Linked DNA regions of Homo sapiens: region 1 is linked to region 2. Evidence: promoter capture Hi-C in 16 types of primary human blood cells and fetal thymus (Javierre and others, 2016). All regions are on one chromosome and are shown on one strand. The core of a region is centred on a gene start or on the middle of the fragment in contact, and the rest is flanking DNA. Distances in the headings are between cores, read along the strand shown. Region 1 overlaps AP3B1 (adaptor related protein complex 3 subunit beta 1). Region 2 holds the start of OTP-AS1 (OTP antisense RNA 1).

What was found. Contacts are between HindIII fragments. The CHiCAGO score rates a contact against its expected background, and 5 or more counts as called.
Region 1: a contact is called between a fragment that was not itself captured here and the fragment with the promoter of OTP-AS1 in region 2, in 2 of 17 cell types (M0 macrophages and M2 macrophages). The highest score is 6.1, in M0 macrophages.

The regions. Positions count from the first base shown.
Region 1 is chr5:78,012,208-78,016,330 of GRCh38, reverse strand. AP3B1 (adaptor related protein complex 3 subunit beta 1) reads left to right here. Exons shown (of 27, transcript NM_003664.5): 26 at 783-921. Among named protein-coding and RNA genes, the nearest start is that of TBCA, 240 kb to the right of the region's middle. The HindIII fragment of the contact is 3,391 bases long and covers 447-3,837 here.
Region 2 is chr5:77,627,251-77,630,936 of GRCh38, reverse strand. OTP-AS1 (OTP antisense RNA 1) reads right to left here and starts at 1,266. Exons shown (of 2, transcript NR_198942.1): 1 at 1,176-1,266. It overlaps OTP (orthopedia homeobox), which reads left to right. Exons shown (of 3, transcript NM_032109.3): 3 at 143-2,225. The coding sequence ends at 673. RefSeq lists enhancers at 228-277, 2,035-2,600 and a silencer at 448-887. The HindIII fragment of the contact is 19,458 bases long and covers 1-3,686 here.

The DNA.
Region 1 (4,123 bases), core at 893-3,392, 380 kb before region 2:
AGGTCTGGATATTAATGGCATGTCTTGCATTAACTCTGTATGGTTTTTTTCATGCTTTTGCTTAACTTAATTTCTCTCCTAAATATTATTTGAAATGTCCCTGGGATTTAAGAGTTTTCATTCTCATTTTTTCTTTCATTTTCAAAGTTTTTGCTTCAGGAGTTTCAATTAGTGTTTTTGTCAGCAAAACACTTTCCATTCACTAGACAAGTACTTTTAGCTCTAAGTATAGCCTAAATACTTGTGCATTTTCAGTGACTTCCAGTCACTGTTGAGATAACTTCGATCTGTCATACTGAGGCCATTTACCAGGTATTGCTGCTAGTTATCCTGGAATTACTTTGATGTGTTCTCAAGCAGCATTTGGCAATGAGAGATCTTTGAATGAATAGAAAAAAATAGCAATAGTAACAAATACATTTATATATTATTAAGAAGTAAAAGCTTACTAGTTTACATAAACCCCAGATTGAGTATACTTTAAAGAGACTGAAATTGATATTTCATATGTGTGATTCTAAGTTTTTATCCTATCATACTTAAAATTAGATTTAAGTGATTTTTTACTGAATTTTTACACATTTTCCTATACAATGAGGATTTTAAAAAACTTCGAAACAATTGCATTTTGTTTTAGTTTTATAATTATCTTGTAAATTACATCCTAAAGTAGTGTTTCTTTTGTTGAAAAAAAGTTAAAATTTTGGCCATGAGCTTAAAATTCTGTAAATGTAATTTTCAAAAAGAAATTAATAAAAGGGAGCCTTCTTTTGCTTTTACAGGAGTGCTAACAGGAATGAATGAAACTTCTGCTGTAATCATTGCTGCACCACAGAATTTCACTCCCTCTGTGATCTTTCAGAAGGTTGTAAATGTAGCCAATGTAGGTGCAGTCCCTTCTGGCCAGGATAATATACACAGGTAGGTTCACTAACACACGATGTGGAGGTGAAGATGACTTGAATATGTATAAATATATAATTTTAAATTCATTGTTTTCTTTGGAAATAATAACCCCTAAACATATATATATATACACACACTCCCTTTTTTTTCTGATGGTATAGTTGTTGATTGCTTTGCATTAAGGCTGTCTTTCCCATCTCAGAGCATCCTTATCATACTGGCATGGTCTTTCCTGAAAGATATACAGAGCATATTCACATTTTATAATAGCTTGGTAATTTATAAAGTTACCCTTTTTGAGGTGGTTGAGAGTTTATCTTATTTCACCAGATTCAGTAGATGTCCAGGAAGAACTATTCTATAAAGCAGTATAGTTGGACTTTTTTAATTGAAAGGGAGGACGTTTGGGTACTACATACAGATTTCCTTTTGATAGCCATCCCCTGAGACTGCTTCCAGTAAATAAAGAGCTGCTAGATGACCAACATGGGGGTAAATACAGCTTCTGTTTCTTAGACCAGTAATATTTTCTATCACCAAGCATCTGAAATATGAGATCCAAGTTATTTGTCCTGAAAGGCAGCAGAAAATGTGATTAATGTTTGCCCTCTTGTATTTTTATGAATTCCAGTGGCTTTAAATGAATGTAAAGATAAAAATAATTATCTCTTATCCATTTGGTGATTGCACAGTCCTCTGTGAGCTTAAGGGAATTCGTTGCAAACCATCTCATGGCAGGCATACTTCTGCCATTAAAAATATCTACACACTGTATATTTAGTGTGCCCTTTCTTATATAATTATCAATCATAGAAAACAAATTTAGCATCAAAGGGAAGGCCTGCAGACCTTAAAAAACATTTTTTTAAGTTAACACAGGAGCAAGAGAGGCCCCATATGAAAAATGCTACAGGTGATTTGGGTTTTAGATCTAACTCTGCCACTAATGGGCTTGGTAATCTTGGGGAAGTTATAACTTCTTATGTGCTTTACATTCCTTATGTGTTTGGAAATGGGTGGCAGGAAGAAAAAGTGAGGTAGGATTGAAATGAAATTCTGTGATAGCTATGAAAGAACATTAGATTTGACTTCAGAAGAGCTGACCTGCCATTACTGTATCCGTAGTTGCCTAACTTCACTGTACTAATCACGGCGGAATAAAAACTGCATGTACTAGTTGAAAAATAGATTTACCTTGTACTGTTTTTTTTTTTTTTAAGTTGCTCAAGAGGTCTCATGCTTTCATTTCTTTTTTGTTGTTGTTGAGACAGTCTTACTCTGTCACCCAGGCTGGAGCGCAGTGGCGCGATCTCGGCTCACTGCAAGCTCCGCCTCCCGGGTTCACGCCATTCTCCTGCCTCAGCCTCCCGAGTGGCTGGGACTACAGGCACCCGGCACCACGCCCGGCTAATTTTTTGTATTTTTAGTAGAGACGGGGTTTCACTGTGTTAGCCAGGATGGTCTCGATCTCCTGACCTCATGATCCACCCGTCTCGGCCTCCCAAAGTGCTGGGATTACAGGCATGAGCCACCGCGCCCGGTGTCTTTCATTTCTTAGTTTTTGACAAGCTCTATCTATCTCACATAGGATGGTGATAAAATAAGAAAATGGATGTAAGGTCATGATACAGACCACCACAAAAATACAACTTATTTATCAGTTAATGTTGTTCAATAGGGAAAAGAGTAACAAAAGCCTTTTCAGTGAAAATAAATATTTTGAGTTTTCCTGTTTTAATTTTATTCTGCTTTAAATACTTCTTTTCACTTTCCTAGGTAATTTTCTCTAACAGAAACTGTTTTGTTTTATTTATGGGTCCTTGGAATTATTGAATTTACTAAAACACCAAAATGCTGTATTATCAAGTATAACTTCTTCAGTATGAAATTTTACCTGAAACACCTAGTATCCAGCAATACTGCAGTCTTGTTTTAATATAGAGTAGCCACTGTTTATGCTGGAACATCTAGTTTAGTTTTGTTTTGTGTATAGGTTGTTTTGGGTTTCTTTTTTTTGTTAACTTTTCTGAAAGCAATGGCAGCTGTCTAGATTTTTGTTTCTTAGAAGAAAAAATGTCAAGGCTGGGCAAGGTGGCTTACATCTGTCATCCCAGTACTTTGGGAGGCTAAAGTGGGTAGATCTCTTGAGCCCAGGAGTTCAAGACCAGACTGGGCAACATAGGGAGACCCTGTCTCTACAAAAAATATAAAATTAAATCCGGCATGGTGGCACATGCCTGTAGTCCCAGTTACTTGGGAAGCTGAGGTAGGAGGATCGCCTGAGCCCATGGAGGTCAAGGCTGTAGTGAGCTGTGATCACACCATTGCACTCCAGCCTGGGTGACAGAGTGAGACCCTGTCTCAAAAAAAGAGAAAAGAAAGAAGAAAAGTGAAGTTACAAAGCCACATAAAATGAAAGCTATCTTCCTATTGGGAGATAGACTTAGAGGGACCCTTAGCACAGTTGTATAATTCTTATTAAAGATAGTTTGCCAGTAACTTGTCTTGCTGGTTTGGAATGTAATACCTGTAATACCTGCTCAAATGATTTAAATTAAAATTACAATCAATTCTCAATTGTCCATGCTAATACAGAGGAGACACACAACTAAGAACCATTTATATTTGACTTTGGAGTGCAGAGATTGAACCCAAAACTTAATGTTCGTGGTCCTCATACTCATCCACAGTGTCTTGAGGCTTTTCTGTTCTAGCCGTATCATCAGTGGCCTGGTGTTTGGCTCTGTAACCTGGGGGAGGGCCCAAGTTACTACAGGGTCAAAAGTCAATAAAATACCTGTAGATACTTAAGAATAGCCTGTGCTGTCTTAACTTGCTTCTCAAGTCCCATCATACTGAATTGAAAAATATTTCATATTTGCTTTTATAGCTAAAGTATGACTGTAATAATGTTCTAAATTTTAGAAAGCTTCCAGGTAACAAACACCTAAAGTTATTTTTATTTTTTATACAGATATTGACATAAATTATTATCCTGTGTATGTAACACTTTTTCTCATTCTTTTTGCTAATAGCAATTAAAACAAAAATAAACAATTGTTAATAAAACGTACTTTTGTACTTTTTTTTTGCTTTTCTTAATTTCATTTAAAATGAAATAGGAATTAGTGTTTACATTATAATAATATAAATTAACTGTTTACCACTTTATTGAAATAAATGTTTTTAACTATAGTGTTCCATATTATATTACCCT
Region 2 (3,686 bases), core at 17-2,516:
GGGCTTGTCGGGCCTACGGCACTTGTTCCTCCCAGGGCAGAGCGGCTGTATCCGAGGCGGGTTTCTGGGGCTCAAGCCCCAACTCCCCAGCCGCCGGGCCGGCTAATAGCTCCCTGTCTGTCTCCCGCCCCGCCCGCTCCAGGTCTGGTTCCAGAACCGACGCGCCAAGTGGAAGAAGCGCAAAAAGACGACCAACGTGTTCCGTGCGCCCGGCACACTGCTGCCCACGCCAGGCCTGCCTCAGTTCCCGTCGGCTGCCGCCGCCGCTGCCGCCGCCATGGGCGACAGCCTGTGCTCTTTCCACGCCAACGACACCCGCTGGGCGGCGGCCGCCATGCCTGGCGTGTCACAGCTGCCTCTGCCGCCGGCGCTGGGCAGGCAGCAGGCCATGGCGCAGTCGCTGTCCCAGTGCAGCCTGGCGGCCGGTCCGCCGCCCAACTCCATGGGCCTGTCCAACAGCCTGGCGGGTTCCAACGGCGCGGGGCTGCAGTCGCACCTCTACCAGCCCGCCTTCCCCGGCATGGTGCCCGCCTCCCTCCCCGGCCCCAGCAACGTCTCCGGTTCGCCCCAGCTCTGCAGCTCCCCGGACAGCAGCGACGTGTGGCGGGGCACCAGCATCGCCTCCCTCCGCCGCAAGGCGCTAGAGCACACAGTCTCTATGAGCTTCACTTAATGCAGCCGCGCCCCGGCCCGCTCCGCCCCCAGCACCGCCCCGGGGGCCGCCCCGAGGCCCTTCCGGCGCGCACCCGGACCCCGGCGCCCTGCCCCGTCCCGCCCCGGCCTTCGCCCCGTCTCGTTTCGTCCTCGCCTCTCTCCTCCACTCGCTCGGGCTCACCCCAAGCCCCAGCCCGCGAGGCCTCCCCTCCGCCTGATTTCGATCGCCCGCGGTCCCCCGTCTCCCGGCCGCCCCTCTTCCCTTCCCACCCAGCTGCGCCCTCGGCTCGGTCTCCAGCGCCTCAGCCCACCCTTCCCGCCACCCTGGCCTCCCTGCTTGCGCTGGCCGTGCTCGCGCCCTCCTCCTGGCCTTCTGACGGGCGGCGTTCCCACCCACACCTTCGACGCGACGCCTACGACCCCCCTCGCCCGCCGCCTCCCCTCCGGTCCCCTCTTTCCCCACACTTCGCGACCCTCCTCCCGCGCCCGGCAAAAAGTATCCTTCCCGCCATTTTACGTACCAGGGAGTCGACTCAGGATCTGAAATCAGACACCAATGGACTGGTTTGTGGGCAGAAACACACACACTCGCACTCTCGCTCACGCTCAGACGCTACACACGCGCGCGCACAGACACGGTGCACCTAGGTCACACACGGACGTGTTCAAGGGACAGCACAATGTTAGGGATTTTTGTCTTAAAGGAGGACAAGCATTGCTACCAACCGCCTCATCTGAGGGCCCAACTGATATGATTTGATTTATCCTTGTACTCTCCAAGCTCCTGTCTTTCTTTCCTCTCCCACCACGCTACCCTTGCCCAGTCCACCCAGTCACATCCGTGCAGCCCTCTCTTGGCTTGCAAGATAACGCTTTTATTTTTATTTTATCTTATTTTCATTTTCTTAAGCACAACTGTGTGAGAGTGTAGAAGGGAAGGCTTCTCAGGAGGAACGTGACAGTGGATTGGGTGGCTGGAGTAGACTAAAGCAGTCATGTGACGAGGAAGAGGTGATCTGACCCATTTTGATAAGTCTTTATAAGGAAGAATAAAATAAACGTGTAAGCAAAATTTTCTTTTGTAAAAGCAAAAGCCACATCTCTTTTCTGGATCCTTCAGGACTGGGGTTTGTTTGCTTCCTTTTCTGTTTCTGTCTTCTCGCTGCTCTGTGCCCTTGGTTGTTTTGTGGTGGTCCTGTCGTCCCTCGTGCCCCTCGGCCACCTGCTGGCAGCCGATGGGGGCACTCGGACATCTACAACCCTGCAACTTTGTACAGAGAAACACAATCAGCTCTTTCTGCATGTGCTGGTCAAATCCAAACCCAGAGAACAGAAGCGCTTTCTAAGAATGAACAAATATGTGAAATAGGATGTTTTGTGTAGATAAAGCATTCTTGTTACATACTGGTCAATTTGTGATATGTTTTAACTTAATGTCTGTGTTTATTTATGGAATTCGGTTTTCTTAATAAATGTTTGAGCTAATATAAAGCATATTATTTGACTTTTCCGGACAAGTTTATATCAAGTTAAATGTAAATGGATAAAATAAAATCATTTTCAGTATGTGATATAGAGAATGATGGGTTTTGGTGTGACCTTGAACGGCGGGAGGGGTCTCGTGGGGGGAGGGGAGGGGCCGGTCTTGGGAATGGTTATATTCGCGCCAGTTGGAACGCGTGGGCCCTTCGCCCTGCAGTGGGCTTGGGTTCGGTTTCTGGGCTGCAAGGTGAGGTCTCCGCGACGGGGCGGCATGCTGGGGCGCCGCGAGCGCCTCACGCAAGCTCTGAGCCTCCCGAGGTTTCCGGGCCAACCCAGGTTTCCCAGGTGGGACTCCGAGCGTCGCTGTCGGCACGAAACGCAGGGCGCGAGAGTTCCTCAGATGAACGGTGTCCCTGGGGCAGTGGCGCGGAGGGCGCCCCTCGCGGGCTGCGTGCGCGTGATGGGGAGGCCGTGGGTGGGAGGGGACCACAATTCGCACCCTCGGCCTTCAGAGCCTGGAGTTCTGCTCTCCGGCGCCGCCCCAGCCGTGTCTGGCCCCAGGTACGCGGTGGAAGCTAGGCCGCGGCTCTTGCCTCCTCCGGGGCCTAGGCCTCTTTGGGGCCTTCCCTAAGGCCACGGCGCCCCTTCATGTCCCCAGACCCGGGATCCGCTTCAGATACCCGGGACCTCCCAAGTAAGGGACAAACGCGCTTCTCCAGAAGAGGCGTGTCCGGGACGACCAGCACCTACCAGGGCTCCCCCAACCCCGGGGCTGCTCTGGTTTCCTGTCAGGGTCCCTGCTGGCTGCGTACTAACCTCGACTTCAGGCACGTGCTCAGGGGACTGCCCCAAAGGAGTAGGAAAAAAATGCCGTTTCTTCGGTCGGCCGAGGGGAAGGTTTGCGGTGTGTTTTAAACTTGGAGGCAAATCGATATCACAGGCTTCCTTGGGAAGGCTAACCGAAATCAATCTTGTGGTTTGAAATTTAATGGTCATTATAGGCATTGAGAGGGCACCCCTTTTCCCACGGGAAGACTTCTCATTTGGTTGCCTCAGAGTGTAAACCCTAAAAAATACCCTCCTGCTAAAATACAATACAGCTGGGCTACATGTGAATTTGAGGAGCTGTTGTAATCGTTACTCAACTAAGAGAACACAATGGAATCTCCTCAGAGATGAGAACAAAAAGCTATGATTTTTAATGATAAAGTAAATCTGTTCATGTTACCTTAGGAATTTTAATTAGAGGTAAACTGGTGGGTGGGTTCACAGAATATTTCAGTTATACACTTTCCTAAAGACTATTTTTAGTACATTAAAATATTAAAGAAGAGAAAACATGCTCATTTTGAATTTCATACAAGAACGGAACATTTCTGTATTTGAGAACTCATCCAAGAATTCAGCAGCACACAACCACCAAATTTCTAAAATATGAGTTAATGAAAAATACTTTTCCTTGTTTTTGCATTTCATCATATTCTCGCTTGTTTTATGTTAGTGCTTTTTTTTAAAAAAAATTGAAATCGTGGATACTGTAATCTCAAGTC